Linked DNA regions of Homo sapiens: all the other regions are linked to region 1. The links are contacts of gene promoters, found by promoter capture Hi-C in blood cells and fetal thymus (Javierre and others, 2016). All regions are on one chromosome and are shown on one strand. The core of a region is centred on a gene start or on the middle of the fragment in contact, and the rest is flanking DNA. Distances in the headings are between cores, read along the strand shown. Region 1 holds the start of CTSK (cathepsin K). Region 2 overlaps MINDY1 (MINDY lysine 48 deubiquitinase 1). Region 3 overlaps LOC107985203 (a long non-coding RNA gene). Region 4 overlaps GOLPH3L (golgi phosphoprotein 3 like). Region 5 overlaps GOLPH3L (golgi phosphoprotein 3 like).

The links. Contacts are between HindIII fragments. The CHiCAGO score rates a contact against its expected background, and 5 or more counts as called.
Region 2: a fragment that was not itself captured here is called in contact with the fragment with the promoter of CTSK in region 1 in 1 of 17 cell types (M1 macrophages); the score reaches 5.4 in M1 macrophages.
Region 3: a fragment that was not itself captured here is called in contact with the fragment with the promoter of CTSK in region 1 in 3 of 17 cell types (erythroblasts, megakaryocytes and endothelial precursors); the score reaches 7.4 in erythroblasts.
Region 4: a fragment that was not itself captured here is called in contact with the fragment with the promoter of CTSK in region 1 in 2 of 17 cell types (endothelial precursors and megakaryocytes); the score reaches 6.7 in endothelial precursors.
Region 5: a fragment that was not itself captured here is called in contact with the fragment with the promoter of CTSK in region 1 in 3 of 17 cell types (endothelial precursors, megakaryocytes and erythroblasts); the score reaches 6.4 in endothelial precursors.

Annotation. Positions count from the first base shown.
Region 1 is chr1:150,806,544-150,809,509 of GRCh38, forward strand. CTSK (cathepsin K) reads right to left here and starts at 1,717. Exons shown (of 8, transcript NM_000396.4): 1 at 1,671-1,717; 2 at 143-263. The coding sequence starts at 262. The HindIII fragment of the contact is 11,451 bases long and covers 1-2,250 here.
Region 2 is chr1:150,998,568-151,001,822 of GRCh38, forward strand. MINDY1 (MINDY lysine 48 deubiquitinase 1) reads right to left here. Exons shown (of 10, transcript NM_001376665.1): 3 at 3,158-3,215; 4 at 2,683-2,747; 5 at 1,890-2,048; 6 at 1,295-1,397; 7 at 802-944. Among named protein-coding and RNA genes, the nearest start is that of MINDY1, 6.7 kb to the right of the region's middle. The HindIII fragment of the contact is 1,422 bases long and covers 1,188-2,609 here.
Region 3 is chr1:150,589,428-150,592,923 of GRCh38, forward strand. All of the region lies in intron 2 of LOC107985203 (a long non-coding RNA gene), which reads left to right. Among named protein-coding and RNA genes, the nearest start is that of MCL1, 12 kb to the left of the region's middle. The HindIII fragment of the contact is 6,180 bases long and covers 1-3,496 here.
Region 4 is chr1:150,649,642-150,653,071 of GRCh38, forward strand. All of the region lies in intron 4 of GOLPH3L (golgi phosphoprotein 3 like), which reads right to left. Among named protein-coding and RNA genes, the nearest start is that of ENSA, 22 kb to the left of the region's middle. The HindIII fragment of the contact is 2,275 bases long and covers 189-2,463 here.
Region 5 is chr1:150,668,263-150,671,538 of GRCh38, forward strand. The region is part of intron 2 of GOLPH3L (golgi phosphoprotein 3 like); the gene reads right to left. Among named protein-coding and RNA genes, the nearest start is that of GOLPH3L, 27 kb to the right of the region's middle. The HindIII fragment of the contact is 5,826 bases long and covers 1-3,276 here.

The sequences.
Region 1 (2,966 bases), core at 467-2,966:
ACCGTATGTTAACATGAGTTAGGGAAGAGGGACTGATTTGCTTGGAATAAAGCATTTGGATTGAAGAAGGGAGTCTGGAAGCTAAGATGAGAGAGCTCAGGTCTCAGCCTTCCTGCCATGCCCCCTCCAGGACCCCAGGCACCTTGTTGTTATATTGCTTCCTGTGGGTCTTCTTCCATAGCTCCCAGTGGGTGTCCAGTATCTCCTCAGGGTACAGAGCAAAGCTCACCACAGGTAGCAGCAGAACCTTGAGCCCCCACATCCTGCAGAAGAATGTAGTTAGGGAAAACTCTTCCATTTGGCAGGGAAACAGAGGAAAACTAGGCTTTATGAGGAAGAGAAAGGTAGACGGAAAAAGGGTGATAAAACAATGATAGTCAGGAGGGGCCTGTGTTTAGATAGGATGCTGGTACATCTGGTTCCAAGGACTTTGATCTAGGGGGATTTAGCCATTTCTCTCTTTCTCTCTCTCTCTCTCTCTCGGGAGATTTAGGCAACACACACTCTCTCTGTTTCTCTCTCTGTCTCTCTCTCTCTCACACACACACACACACACACACACACACACACACACACACACACGTACACAACCAGAAATGGGGGATAGAAACTGGACAATCAGAATGGGCTCAGTGCGTTTCCTCCAGGGTCCCTAGCAGGCTTGGAGACAGACAAATAGCAAGGTGGTAGTGGGGTTCAGAATACACAAAGGAGAGATTTCCGTCTAAGTTTTGCCTCCTGATCATTTCTTCGAGGCGTTCTTCTCTTTCGTGCCTAAATTCTGGTACTTTCCCAGATCTTGTCAGAAGAGGACAAGGGAAAATAGGACAATGTTTCCTGTTTTCTGAGACATTGTATATCTCCTCATTCTCCTTATGCATTTCTTCTTCCTTTTTCTCTCCCTTCCCTCCTTAGGCAGGAAACTGCCCTAATCTTAACCAGATGCTGCGGGCAAGGTTTTTTATTTTTCCCCTAACAACAAAAACCCACTGTGGCTGCCGCAAAGGACAAGAAGCCTCAGATCCAAGGTTTGTTAGAAGAATGTTCAGACTGAAAAGCAATGTTCTATGATGATGAAATTCACAGCTTTTCATAAGTTTACTCTAGTTAGCTTCACTCATTTCTTGCATTGGCTTTCTTAATTACAAATCCTCCATTTTAAGAACAATTTGCAGCCTGCAGCATGACATATGGCTTACACAATTGCTTATAGTCCATTTACATGTAATTTTGCAAACTGGCAAAATGTCCAGTAGGACATTTAAAAACTAGAGTGTTAAGGGCTTTGAGATGTCTCAGTGAACAGGAAGCACTGAGCTACTACCTCCCCATACCACTCTCCTCCTCCTCACTAAGGAGTTAACCGTTTTGATCCTTGTTGGCCAAAGTAGAAAACACTGCAGAAAGGCCACTCTTGAAGGATGGGGAAATGATTCCCTATATACTTTGCTTTTACTAACAATCATGTATGTATATATATAAATCATACAAGGAATTCTACAGATTTCCAGGCAGATTTTATTTAGCCAGGGAATGACCTAAGAAGTGCATCTCTGTTTTCATCTGCAGAGGCTAAAAGTTTATTGTGATCCTCAAGTCACTACATCCCTAATACTCAGAGAATTGACAGGAATGAAAAGCTAAAAGATCTAGGAAGTTGCAAACGTTACCTGCTGATGGAAATCTGTTGTCTGGCTTCGTTTCGGCAGCAAAGTGTGGGCACACCATCAGGGGTGCTAGATTTATTCCATCGGGATTGCGGAAGTCAGCTCCAGTGATCGGCTGGAAAATTTGGGTAAGAGGAGGAGGCGGGGATAGAAATGCTGAGAGAAGGAAGGGTAGGGAGGAGGGAAGGAGGCAGTGGATTTGCAGTGTTTCTGTGTGTATGCAGCATGTGTGCCAGGGTAGGGAATTACTAGCTATTTAGTCTCACAAGACTGTCTTTGGTGGCAAATAACAAGACCTCAATATCTATTGACTCAAATAGGAGCTTACTTTCTCTTTTGGTGAGTAAAAGGAAGGACACAGCCCTAGTCTCTCCCATCCTTCTTCTTCAATATCTTTATTTTAATATTGGGGGATTATATCTTTTCCTACCCCTTTCCTGTTAGGATTTACCTCTCCAACATTGAAACCTATTTTCATATTTGTGTCTGACTCTCACCTCTGGGATGCGGTAATGAACATAAAAGGCTATAAAAGAATAATGTAATGGAAGCCATAGGCTCCAGAATTCTTTGTATTTTTATAAGCTTGTTGGTTGCAAGTTGTCATTACTTCCAGGCAGAATAGTTTTCCCAGCCTAATGTGGTTTTGCTGAAGGAGGATATGCCCAGAAAGTCCAGATGAAACTGTCTTTAAAAGTAACCAAAAACAGCAGTCCTGGTTATTTATGACAGCACTTGAATCAATGCCGTAAGTTCTGATGGACTCACATGTGACTCTGTTGCTAAAACTCTCAGGTGGTGGGATGCCCGATAAACATCATCTGTCTCAATTAAAATCCCCAATCTAGGACAAGTCACATGAGCTTCTCCAAATGCTTCCCCAACATCCAAGCATGTGACAGATCATAAGAATCTAGCTGATTCCTCAAACCACACCCCAAACTTCATTTTCTTCCATAAACAGATGTGGGGAAGGAGAAAAAAAGGCTTCTTGGAATAGAAAGGATAATAAATGGGATCTGTAATAGACTCAGTTTCTAGCTGGATTCCATGCATAAACCCTCAAAAATACAGGCTTATGCCTCTGGATTTTAAGAGCTGCTAACAGGCTAGGCGCAGTGGTTCACGCCTGTAATCCCAGGCCTTTGGGAGGCCAAAGCATGTGGATCACCTAAGGTCAGGAGTTCGAGACTAGCCTGGCCAACATATAGTGAAACCCCATCTCTACTAAAAAAAAAAAACACAAAAATTAGCTGGGCATGGTGGCACACACCTGTAGTGCCAGCTACTTGGGAAGCT
Region 2 (3,255 bases), core at 649-3,148, 190 kb after region 1:
GGATGGCCTCGATCTCCTGACCTCATGATCTGCCCGCCTCGGCCTCCCAAAGTGCTGGGATTACAGGCATGAGCCACCGCACCCGGACCCTGAGCATGCGGACCTTTTACAAATATGTGTGGCCTTGGGGGGAAGAAAGGGATGTCTGAGTGTATGTCCAGTTGGGTGTGAGCACGGTGGTCATTCTGGCTAAGCGTGGCATGGAGTCGTTGGGGCTGAGATGCCACATAAGACCCTGCTCCCCCCATTTCCCATTGTTCTCTGGGCTTGCCTGATGGCTCTTAGGATAAATCCTTTGAGAACCAGAGACCCCTCCCTCTGCTGCTCAAATCCTAGAGAGCTTTGGCAGTTTCTAACTTTTGAAGACCAGCATTGTTTAAAAATTCCACTGCCCCCTCCTAGGGGAGGATCATACTTTCCTGTCCCATCGACGGCAGGCTTATCCCTTATGGCTTGCTCTGGCCAGAAGATGTGAGCAGAAATGACATGTGTCATTTCCAAACAGAAGCTCTAAGCATGAGTGCACAGTGCCCCTCTCTCTCTCTGTTCCCACATATATTCCAGATAAAGGATCTTTTGTCAGCTGGGTCCCAGAGTGAAGATGGTGTGGGACAGAACCGTAGCCAGTCCACAGTGGACACGCACCAGGAGCGGGAAATGAACCTTTGTTGTGGTAAACCACAGGGATTTGAGGGGTCACTTGCTACCACGGCTTAATCTAGCTGATCCCAGCTGGACCCACGAGAAAAAGGCACCAGGAAATGACAGCACCGCAGCACGCCACCCCCAAACTCGCATTACCTTATGCTTAGTCATGGTGCTAAAGTGGTTGTTTCGGAAAAAGACGCTAAGTTCACCCTCCTTAGCAGCTGCTGTCAGCTCACACAGTCCGTGGTAGGTCAGCTGGGCCGCGGTGGTCTCCAGGAACTGCTCTGCAATCAGGCCTGCCAGAAAGGGACGAGTCGGGGGAAACTTGGCTTAAATTCAAGGTCCACAACAGGAAGGACCATCCAGAGAGCCCCTGTCAAAAGCCCCGGGGGGTCAGTCCCACCTTCTGACGTCCCTTTCTTGAAACCTGGCTGTATTCATTCACTTAACAAATACTTATAATAGAGCAGCTACCTTGTGCCAGGCACTGGGGATACCTCAATGAACTAAACAGAAATTCCCCAAGCTCCTTCTTGTGAAGCTTATATCTAGTGGGATGTGGTAGGAGATGACACCCAATAAAAAATAAGCCTAAGTAGCTGTCATTCCCTCCACATACTATCCATGAGAAGGGGAGGAATGTCACCTTCTGTCACGAGGTTGGTGTCACTGGAGTGTTTGCAGGTGATGATCCTCTCCACCAGCTGGTTGTAACTCAGTTTCCCAACTGCACGCACAGCCTCAGGACTCTGCTTGGGTAGTGGGATGTGGGATACCAAAAAAATTGGGATTTTTTTTTCTTTTTTAAGGAAGGAAATGAACAAAGCTCACAAGGACTACAACCCTGTGATGAATGGTTCCTAAACACTTTTTTTTTTTGGTCTCTCAAAAAAGAAAAAAATTTCAGGAACCATTCATCATAGGGTTGCTATGTTGCCCAGACTGGCCTCGAACTCCTCCCAAGTAGCTGGGAATACAGGCATGTGCCACCAAACCCATCTGCTTCCTGAATTTTTGATGTCTAAAGAACTGACCTATTTGCATGTAGTTTGCTTGTATTTGCATGTTACCCCCAAAATAGATTAAAATTCAAGGAATTCTGTACTGGGTCCAGTCTCTAAACACTATTTCCCTCCCAAGCCAATCTAACCCCTAACTCCCTAACCTCTACCCGACAAAAATTTGCCTCTCTCATGTCAGCTTGAGCTGGATAAGGTCCCAGTGGGCCCTCCCACCCTCACCTGTGGATCAACAAGCCAGCCATGGTACAGAGGTATGCCTAGCAGGTCAAAGACACTGCACTCGGGTGTATACTCAAAATCAGAGACGCCTGTGAATCGCACATTGACATCCAGACCTGTGGCCAGTTTAGGCAGCACTGTCATTGCATCATCCACATTCTGGGGGTAGAAAAAAAAATGATGGAGATTCTAGCCTTCTCTCCCACCACTCCACTCCCACCTGCAGAAATTAAAAATTAACCTTGCTGCTCTTCTTCCCTGATTCTCTTACAAGCCACTCCATTTCTCCCTTGCCTCAACCCTTCTCTATCTTATATAAATGAACATTGTTTTTCTTTGAGAGTCTAAGTCTAATTCTTTCATCCAGGCTGGAGTGCAGTGGTGTGATCCTAGCTCACTGCAGCCTCAAACTCTTGGTTTCAAGTGACCCTCCCACCTCAGCCTCCTGAGTAGCTGGGACTACAGGCACGCACCGCCATACCTGGCTAATTCTTGAAAAAAAAAATGGTTTTTTTTAGAGACAGGGGTATTATTATGTTGCCCAGGCTGGCCTCGAACTCCTGGCCTCAAGTGATCCTCCCGCTTTGGCATCTCAAAGTGCTGGGATTACAGGTGTGAGCACCCGGCCAATGAACATATTTTCTAGGACAAAGATAAACTCTCCTCTGACTCCTGCAGAATGAAATCATGGTTCAAGGAAACCTCTGAAGAAGCAACAAAAGCTTATCTTAGTATTACAAGATGTCCCCTTACAAACCTGCAAACCCCTATGCCTGCAGACCTTTTGCCTCACCTGCTGAAAATTAAGCTGAAGTCCCTCTGACTTCTCCTGGGGCTTGATGGACAGGAGGCAGTTTCCTACAAGACAGGGCCCCTTATCAGCTTACCCCACCAATCATCCCAAAAGCTAAGTTTCCTCTTCTCCTGGAGAATGCGGGTAATGTCACAGAACACAGATTTTCAGAGCTGGAAAATACTTAGAGTCTAATCCAGACTCTTCATTTCTCAGAGGAGGCGACAGCCTCATAAAGGTGAACGGCCCACCCAGGGTCAGATACAAAAGCTAAGGGCAGAATTGGTGTTACAACCCAGGACTCCCGACGCCTTTGCTTTTCATTCTCCAGCCTTGCAGAGAAGCCCCATAGACCCTTACCCTCCCTGCTGTATCAGAACCCCCAAATGGAGATCCCTGAATAGTCTGGATTTCTGGCTGAGTGGATAGCTCTGGAGCCCCTTGGGTAATTCCTCTTCAACGCCCAGTCACTCACCAAGATGGGCCATGAGCTCATCCGATGTGATCACTTCCTTCTGCGGGGGGAGCTTCACCTGGAGGCAGAAGGGGTGATCACGTGTGTGCTTTCCTCCA
Region 3 (3,496 bases), core at 67-2,566, 220 kb before region 1:
GCCTCAGCCTCCTGAGTAGCTGGGATTACAGGTGCCTGCCACCACTCTCGGCTAATTTTTTGTATTTTTAATAGAGACGGGGTTTCACTATGTTGGCCAGGCTGGTCTCAAACTCCTGACTTTGTGATCTGCCCGCCTCAGCCTCCCAAAGTGCTGGGATTACAGATGTGAGCCACTGCACCCGGCCAAGAAAAGATATTATTTCTGAGATGCAGTCTCACTCTGTTGCCCAGGCAAGTGGCAGTGGCAGTGGCTTGATCATAGCTTATTGCAGCCTTGAACTCCTTGGCTGAAGTGATCCTCCTGCCTTGGCCTCCCAAGTAGCTGGGACTAAAAGCACACACTACCACACATAGGTAATTAAATTTTTTTTTTTTTTTTTTTTTGGAGAGACAGAATCTTGCTATGTTGCACAGGCTGGTCTTAAACTCCTGGGTTCAAGAGCTCTTCCCACACCAACCTCCCAAAGTGCTGGGATTATAGGCATGAGCCACCTCACCCACCCTATTATTATTATTAGTCCTCCCAACAACTCTTAAGAAAAACATATCATATTCTTATCCCCATTTTTTATACAAAAAGAAAATTAAATGTAGATTTGGGAATTTATAGCCAGCTTTTAATTGATGGCTAGCATTTGAATTCAAGTCTAATTGTAGAGCCCTTTCTTATCCAGGAAGACTATGTAACAGGAGAAAGGAGGACCATGTAGAACTCTGAGGAATACCAATGTTTAAGAGGTGGGCAGGAAAAGAGAAAGAAGAACCAGAGATGAATTGTTTAAGTATTAGTTTTTGGGGGCTGCCATAACAAAGTACCAAAGGCTCAGTGGCTTAAACAACAGAAATTTATTTCCTCACACTTCTGGAGGCTAGAAGTCCAAGGTCAAGGTATCGAAGGTTGTTTCTTCTGGGGCCTCTTATAAATGGCTGTATCTTGTCCGGTGCCCTTTTTTTTTTTTTTTTTTTTTTGAGATGGAGTTTCACTCTTGTTACTCAGGCTGGAGTGCAATGGTGCAATCTCAGCTCACTGCAACCTCTGCCTCCCAGGTTCAAGCAATTCTCCTGCCTCAGCCTCCCAAGTACCTGGGATTACAGGCACATGCCCCCATGCCTGGCTAATTTTTGTATTTTTAGTAGATACAGGTTTTCACCATGTTGGCCAGGCTGGTCTCAAACTCCTGACCTCAGGTGATCCACCAGTCTCAGCCTCCCAAAGTGCTGGGATTACAGGCGTGAGCCACCGTGCCCGGCCAACCTTAGTTACTTCTTTAAAGACCCTTTCTCCAAATGCAATCCCAGGCTGAGGTACTGGGGGTTAGGACTTCAACACAGGAATTTTGGGTAGCGAGAAGGGAGGCAAAATTCAGTCCCTAACACTCTGTGATATGTTTTCATGGCACCCTTTATTTTCCTTCACAGTATATATTATATATACATACACATACACACATAGACATAGTATATATGTAGTTATTTCTTTAGTTATTTGTTGAATTACTGTATCTACATTTCTAGAAATTGTTCCTTTAAAAATCTTTTTTTTTTTTTGTCAGATTCTTGCTCTGTCACCCAGGCTGTAATGTAATGGCGTGATCTCGGCTCACTGCAACCTCTGCTTCCCGAGTTCAAGCAGCTCTCCTGCCTCAGCCTCCCGAGTAGCTGGGATTACAGGCATGTGCCATCACGCCCAGCTGATTTTTGTATTTTTAGTAGAGACGGGGTTTCACCATGTTGGCCAGGCTACTCTCGAACTCCTGACCTCCTGATCTGCCTGCCTTGCCCTCCCAAAGTGCCGGGATTACAGGTGTGAGCCACCGCACCTGGCCTGTTTTTTTTTTTTTTTTTTTTTTTTTAAACCAAGCAATGGTTATGGAAGTCTTGTCATTTTTAGTGATTTATTCCCTAGTGATACATTATTTTTTCTGTCCGGTGCTTGAATCAGGCTTTTATATATATTAAACATACTTCTTTTTTGTTTTGTTTTGAGATGGAGTCTTGCTCTGTCACCCAGACTGGAGTGCAGTGGTATGATCTTGGTTCAGTGCAACCTCCGCCTCCCGGGTTCAAGTGATTCTCCTGCCTCAGCCTCCCAGGTAGCCAGGACTACAGGCACGTGCTACCACGCCCGGCTAATTTTTGTATTTTTGGTGGACACGGGGTTTCACCATATTGGCCAGGCTGGTCTCCAACTCCTGACCTCAGGTGATCCACGCACCTCCGGTCTCCCACAGTGCTGGGATTACAGGTGTGAGCCACCGCTCCTGGCAAACATACTTCTTTATATGCAGCAATATAATTCTAATATCCAAAGTCTCTGTGGGCATAATTCTGCTATTTATGATTTCTGCTCATTCTCATTTATGGTGGCCTACTTCCTGTTGCTTTGTGTTTGTGGGATTTTTATTAGTGAACACATATTCAAAGGAACTTAACAATAGGGATTTTTTTTCCTTATAGTTTATCATCTGAACTCCAGGGATTTTTTTTAGGTTTGCCTTGAAGGTGACTTTCTCCAGAGAGGATCTGTATTTCGTTCTCTGCAGTGCCTGACAATTAGGTTACTATCACCCTGTAACTACTTTAAAATAAATTCTGGGCTTGGTCGGGCTTGGTGGCTCATGCCTGTAATTCCAGCACTTTGGAAGGCCCAGGTGGGCAGATCACTTGAGGTCATGAGTTCGAGACCAGCCTGGCCAACATGGCGAAACCCGTCTCAACTAAAAATACGAAAATTAGTCGGGCATTGTGGTGGGTGCCGGTAATCCCAGCTACTTGGGAGGCTGAGGCAGGAGAATGGCATGAACCCGGGAGGCAGAGGTTACAGTGAGCCAAGATCACGCCATTGCACTCCAGCCTGGGCAACAGAGGGAGACTCCATCTCAGTAAGTAAGTAAATAAGTAAGTAAGTAAGTAAATAAATAAATAAATAAAATTCTGGGCTTGAAGTGTTTCTGTCTATTCAGGTAGTATAAACTTAGACTATAAACTCATGAAGACTAGCCTGTGAATACTCAGGGGAGGTCTTCACAATCCTCGACTTCCACCCCTGATTCAGAGCCAAGATTGCAGTAGGGACATTTCCTTGCTGTCTCTTTTTTCAAGGTGGGTATTTACTGGTTTACCCTTTCCTTTTTTTTTTTTTTTTTTTTTTTTGAGACGGAGTCTCGCTTTGTCACCCGGGCTGCAGTGCAGTGGCGCAATCTCGGCTCACTGCAAGCTCCGCCTCCCAGGTTCATGCCATTCTCCTGCCTCAGCCTCCAGAGTAGCTGGGACTACAGACACCTGCCAGCACACCGGGCTAATTTTTTGTATTTTTAGTAGAGACGGGGTTTCACTGTGTTAGCCACCATGGTCTCGATCTCCTGACCTCGTGATCCACCCGCCTCGGCCTCCCAAAGTGCTGGGATTACAGGCATGAGCCACCGCACCTGGCCTGGTTTACCCTTTCATTGACAGTGGAGCCTGTGCCCACTGCATTAAAGTTGAAGCTCTGT
Region 4 (3,430 bases), core at 76-2,575, 160 kb before region 1:
GCTGCACCCACTCAGGAGCAATCAGAGCAGGACGTGGGGCTTGACTTGAGAGTATTCCCCAGACCACACATAGATCTATCAAAAAAGGGTGGATGCTTCACTGGCACCAAGGGCTAAAGCACAACCACTGAACCAACACTGGCTGAACAATAAGCTACCCTAACTCAGAGGCAACTCCTAGAAAGCTAAGCTTAAAAATAATAATAATAGCCGGGTGTGGTGGTACACGCCTGTAGTCCCAGCTACTTGGAGGCTTAGGCAGGAAAACCCAGGAGGCGGAGGTTTCAGTCAGCTGAGATTGTACCACTGCACTCCAGCCTGAGTGACAGAGTGAGACTTCATCTCAAGAAATGAAAAATAAAAAATAAAAATAAAATTAAAAAAATCACATACATCCCTGGTGTATGTCCAAGGATGTACTCTCTCCGAGAAGAAATCAGAGAGGGAACTTCCAAGCTGCTAGTTCCTCACTGAATGTGGGGCAAAATGTAAACTCCCTGATTTGTGATGGCTATGTCAAAATCACACACACATATCCAACAGTAAAGGATAAAAAAATTTAATTGGCTAAAAGGTCTTAAGCACAACCTTTGACTAATAAGTGGCTTCTACTGACCCACTGGCAACACACAGGGAGTTAGGCCAAAAGATAAAAACAAGAAAATATGAGCAGTGACATCAGAGGCTGCACACTACAAGAGAAACAGACTTCAGAGAGCTGCTGCAGGCAAGTCACTAAGGAAACAAATTACCAAGCAAACAACACAATCAACCTCTAGTGGGAAGGAGAAACCAGTATAGCAGGTGTCCCCAACCCCTGGACCATGGACTGGTACTGGTCTGCAGCCTGTTAGGAACCCGGCTGCACAGCAGGAGGTGAGCCATGGGTGAGTAAAGTTGAGCTCTGCCTCCCATCAGATCAGCAGTGGCATTAGGTTCCCACAGGAGTGTGAACCCTATTGTGAACTGCACATGGGAGGGATCTAGGTTGCATGTTCCTTGTGAGACTCTAATAAATGCAATGCACTTGAATCATACCGAAACCATCCCCCCGTCTCCCACCCCAGTGGAAAAACTGTCTTCCACGAAACCTGTCCTGGTGCCAGAAAAGTTGGGGACAGCTGCAGTGTAGTATCCAGAGTTGCACAATTATCTAAAATGTCCAGTTTTTGACAAAAAAGTATGAAGTATACAAAGAATAAATTGTGACCCATTGACCCATTCAGAAGAAAAAAAGCAGGCAATGGAAACTGCCTTTGAGAACGCTAAAATGTTGGACTTTACAAAGACTATAAAGCAGCTTTTATAAATATGTTCAAAGACCTAAGGGAAACCATGACTTATCATATAGAGAATATAAATAAAGACAGAAATTATAAAAAAGATCCATTTAGACCAGGTGCGGTGGCTCACGCCTGTAATCCCAGCATTTTGAGAGGCTGAGGTGGGTGGATCATTTGAGGCCAGGAGTTCAAGACAAGCCTGGCCAACATGGCGAAACGCCATCTCTACTAAAAATACAAAAATTAGCCAGGTATGGTGGGCACCTGTAATCCCAGCTGCTCAGGAGGCTGAGGCAGAGAATCGCTTGAACCTGGGAGGTGGAGGCTGCAATGAGCTGAGATAGTGCCACTGCACTCCAGCCTGGGCAACAAAGCAAGACTCCATCTCAAAAAAACAAAAACAAAAAAACCATTTAGAAATCCTAGAGTTTAAAAGTACAACAGACTGGGCATGGTGGCTCACGTCTGTAATCCCAGCACTTTGGGAGGCTGAGGCAGGCGGATTACTTGAAGCCAGGAGTTTGAGACCAGCCTGGCCAATATGGTGAAACCCTGTCTCTACTAAAAATACAAAATTAGCCGGGTATGGTGGTGTGTGCCTGTAGTTCCAGCTACTCAGGAGGCTGAGGCAGGAGAATCACTTGAACCCAGGAGGCGGAGGTTGCAATGAGCCAAGATCACACCATTACACTCCAGCCTCAGCGACAGAGCGAAACTCAAAAAAAAAAAAAAAAAAAAAAGTACAACAAACAAAATGAAAAAATCACTCAAGGGATCCAACAAGAGATCTGAGCTGGCAAAATAAAGAATTAGCAAACTTAGAGATCAAAGAAATTATGTAATATGAAGAACAAGGAGAAAAGAGAATGAAGAAAAATGAACAGACTCAGAGAAATATAAAGTATCATCAACTTGATGAACATACATAAAATGGAAGCACCAGAAGGAAAGGAGAGAAAGAGGCAGAAAAAATACTCAAGAAAGTAATGGCTAAAATCTTGCCAAACGTGATGAAAAACACTCAACCACACATTGGAGAAGTTCAACAAACTCCAAGTTGGATGAACACAAAGAGACCCATATCCAACATCATAGTAAAAATGTTGAAAACCAAAAATAAGTGGAAAATCATGAAAGCAGAAGAGAAAAATGACTTATCACATCACAGTGGAACTTTGTAAGCTTAATAACTGACTTCCCATTAGAAAAAATGCAGGCCAGAAGAATGAGTAGACTTATTCAAAGTGAGGGTAGAAACTATTAGCCAAGAATCTTATAACTGGCAAACTATCTTTCAGAAATAAAAGCAAAGCAGGTGTGGTGGCATGCACTTGTAGTCCCAGCTACTCAGGAGGCTGAGGCAGGAGAATCACTTGAACCCAGGAAGTGGAGGTTGCATTGAGCTGAGATCGTGCCACCGCACTCCAGACTGGGTGACAGAGTGAGACTCTGTCTCAAAAAAAAAAAAAAAAAAAAAAAAAAAACCCTAAAAAAAACAAAACAAAAATGAAGGCAAAGAAAAATTTCTAAAAAGGAGAAAAAATAAATACATTCCTAGATCTGAAAGAGTTCACTGCTAGCAGACCTGCTTATAAGAAATATTAATACTAAAACTAAAGGGAAGTTGTTAAGGCTGAGAGCAGGACACACTAGACAGTAATTTGAATCCACGTGAACAAACAGTAAAAGTAATTATGTAAGTAATAAAAAAGATGGTATAATTGGATACTTCATCTCAACTGATTTATAAAGCAATTGCACAAAACAATATTTATATAATTGTTATTGTTGAGTTATAATTTTTAACTTTTTAAACTTTTGCGCAAGGTTATAACACATAGAAATGTAATAATAGCACAAAGAAAGAGGGTGGGAAAAAAGTTGTGTTGAAGTAAGGAAAATGACAACAGATGGTAACTTGAATCCACAGGAAGAAATGAAGAAAACCAGAAATGGTAAATAAGGAGGTTAATATAACAAACTCTATAAGTATATATTTGTGCTTTCTTCTCTTCTTTAATAATTACAACAATGAATTGTTGAATTTGTAACACATAGAGATGTAATACGTGTAACAATATTGGCATGGTGGGCCCATGCCTGTAATCCCAGAACTTTGGGATGCCAAGGTGGGCAGATTGCTTGAG
Region 5 (3,276 bases), core at 687-3,186, 140 kb before region 1:
AGCCATAAAATATTCCTTAGACATCTCCAAATTTCCTGAGGGTCTGATCTTTGACTCAAGGTTGGGATTAGTTCCCTCCCCTGCCTGCCTCATGGCTACTCCAAGTCATATTTGTTTTTTTGGTTTTGTTTTTGTTTGGACACAGGGTATCGCTCTGTCGCCCAGGCTGGGGTGCAGTGGCATGATCTCATCTCACTGCAACCTCCACCTCCCTGGTTCAAGCAATCCTCTCACCTCAGCCTCCCAAGTAGTTGGGACTACAGGCGCGTGCCACCACACCCAGCTAATATTTGTATTTTTAGTAGAGATGGGGTTTTGCCATGTTGCCCAGGCTGGTCTCGAACTCCTCAGCTCAAGTGGTATGCCCACCTCAGCCTCCTGAAGTACTAAAATTACAGGTGTGAGCCACTGTGCCTGGCCCCAACTCATATTTGTGACTCCTCTTTAAGGAAGGGGTAGGCTTTTTTTTTAGGTTAACACTTGTTTTTTTTTATAGTTTAGCTACCTAATTAAAGTTAAACTATAACTTCCTTCAGAACACGTAATTATGTAGGCATTATTTATTCTCGTAATAAATCTTAACAGGTGTGCAAACATTTTAGCCAATATTAAAGCAACTGGAAGAAAGTTTTCTTTTGTTGTCTCATTTCCTCCTGACCATGTAACTTCTGTTTCAGTGACAGTGACATCAGATTGTCAACAAAACTATAAATGAGAAGCAGTATAAAGAAATGATGAAGATCAGGATAAAGAAACTACATTTTTGAATGTCACACTTTCCTATTGTAGCATCTCAAAACATACAAAACTTTCCAAACGAGTTTTTAACTTTTTTATTAAGAATATGCAATAATAGACAAAAGTATAAAAACATATATGTAGAGTTTTAAGAAAATAATTATAAAACAAACACCTGTATAACTACAAGAAAGAGACTGGATTTAGAAAAAGAAAATAACTGAGAAAAGAGAGAACATGATAGTAAATGTTCCCCTGTACTGTGGGTACATATGACCAATAAAGATTATAATATTGTCATCTATAGTAATATTTAGAACAGATTGAAACAAATTTAGGTGCAGAATAGCCTGGAGGTAAGGGAAAATACAATTATTTATATTTAAAGGTCATTTTCCTCTTAGTGTATCTATCTAACTTAGTGAATTCTCCAGCCATTCATAATAAAGATTCTATATTAAATGGCCAATGCTTTGGTATGTCTGAGCAGGAAGACCTAGCACGTACATACTAAAGTTCACCATTTGATCATTAAATCTCATTACCAAAGGCTATCTAAAGAAAATTTTAGGACCTACCCAACACAGATGGAATTGCACATTGTCTCATGGCTAATGGAGAATCTCAGAGAATTTGCAGAATAAGATATTCAGATAGTGGACTTTAATATACATCTGTAGGCCGGGCGCGGTGGCTCACACCTGTAATCCCTGCACTTTGGGAGGTCAAGGCGGGTGGATCACCTGAGGTTAGGAGTTCGAGACCAGCCTGGCCAACATGATGAAACCCTGTCTCTACTAAAAATACAAAAATTAGCTGGGTGTGGTGGCACGTGCCTGTAATCCCAGCTACTCAGGAGGCTGAGGCAGGATAATCACTTGAACCTGGGAGGTGGAGGTTGCAGTTAGCTGAGATCACACCACTGCACTCCATCCTGGGCAACAAGAGCAAAACTCCGTCTCAAAAAAAAAAACTGCAGGCCCGGCGTGGTCGCTCAGGACTGTAATCCCAGCATTTTGGGAGGCTGACGTGGGTGGATAGCCTGAGGTCAGCAGTTCAAGACCAGCCTGGCCAACATGGTGAAACCCCGTTTCTACTAAAAAATATAAAAATTGGCCAGGTGTGGTGGTAGACGCCTGTAATCCCAGCCACTCAGGAAGCTGAGGCAGAAGAATTGCTTGAACCCCAGAGGTGGAGGTTGCAGTGAGCTGAGATCTCACCACTGCACTCCAGCCTGGGCGACAAGATTGAAACTCCATCTCAAAAAAAATTGTAAAAAAGAAAGAAAAATCCCATTATAGAAATGTATACTTTAGGCTGGGTGTGGTGGCTCACGCCTGTAATCCCAGCACTTTGGGAGGCTGAGGCGAGTGGATCATGAGGTCAGGAGATCGAGACCATCCTGGCTAACACGGTGAAACCCCGTCTCTACTAAAAATACAAAAAATTAGCCGGGCGTGGTGGCGGGTGCCTGTAGTCCCAGCTACTTGGGAGGCTGAGGCAGGAGAATGGCATGAACCCAGGAGGCGGAGCTTGCAGTGAGCCGAGATTGTGCCACTGCACTCCAGCCTGGGCTACAGAGCAAGACTCTGTCTCAAAAAATAAATAAATAAATAAAAAGAAATGTAGACTTTAGAAAGTGAAAGTGTTCTAGAATCTTATCCCCTCTAGAGGATCACTACCAACAGTTTAATGGGTACTTTTCTAGATTTTTATATACATATTCTATGTTTACACTTATTAATATTATTTCTAGAAATGGCATTACACTGAGTGGTAACTTTTTTCATTAACCCATTATTCTGGGTATCATTCCACATCAGTAAATATACTTCTTCATCCCTTGTAATGACTGCATAGTATTGCATTTTACATGCATTATAATTTTATCTATCCAAGCCCCTTACTGATGTGCATTTAGGTTGCTTACAGTATTTTGTTATTATTAAAAAATGTTGGCTGGGTGTGGTGGCTCAAGCCTGTAATCCCAGCACTTTGGGAGGCCATGGTGGGTGGATCACCTGAGGTCAGGAGTTTGAGACCAGCCTGGCCAACATGGTGAAACCCAGTCTCCACTAAAAATACAAAAAAATTAGCCGGGCATGGTGGCCCGTGCCTGTAATCCCAGCTACTCAGGAGGGTGAGGCAGGAGAATCCTATGAATCCAGGAGGCAGAGGCTGCAGGGAGGTGAGTTCGTGCCACTGCACTCCAGCCTGGGCGGCAGAGTAAGACTCCATCTCAAGAAAAAAAAAAAAAAGTAAAGACGTATTCATTTGTGTGTGTATTTCTGTTGAATATCTAGAAGAAAATTCTGGGTCAAATATTACACATATTTAAACTTTAAAGATTGCACAATGGGAATTCAATAAATTCAGACAGTCAACACTTTATGCTGAATTTCCACTTAGTCAAGTATTCAAAGTGCCCTTCCTTATTCAAACTTCCTTGAAGACACACCTTAAAACAACTCTGAAGGTTAAAGATCTTAAAAGTTGCCTGCTTGGCAAAAAAAGAGGAAAGAAGGGCCGGGCGCGGTG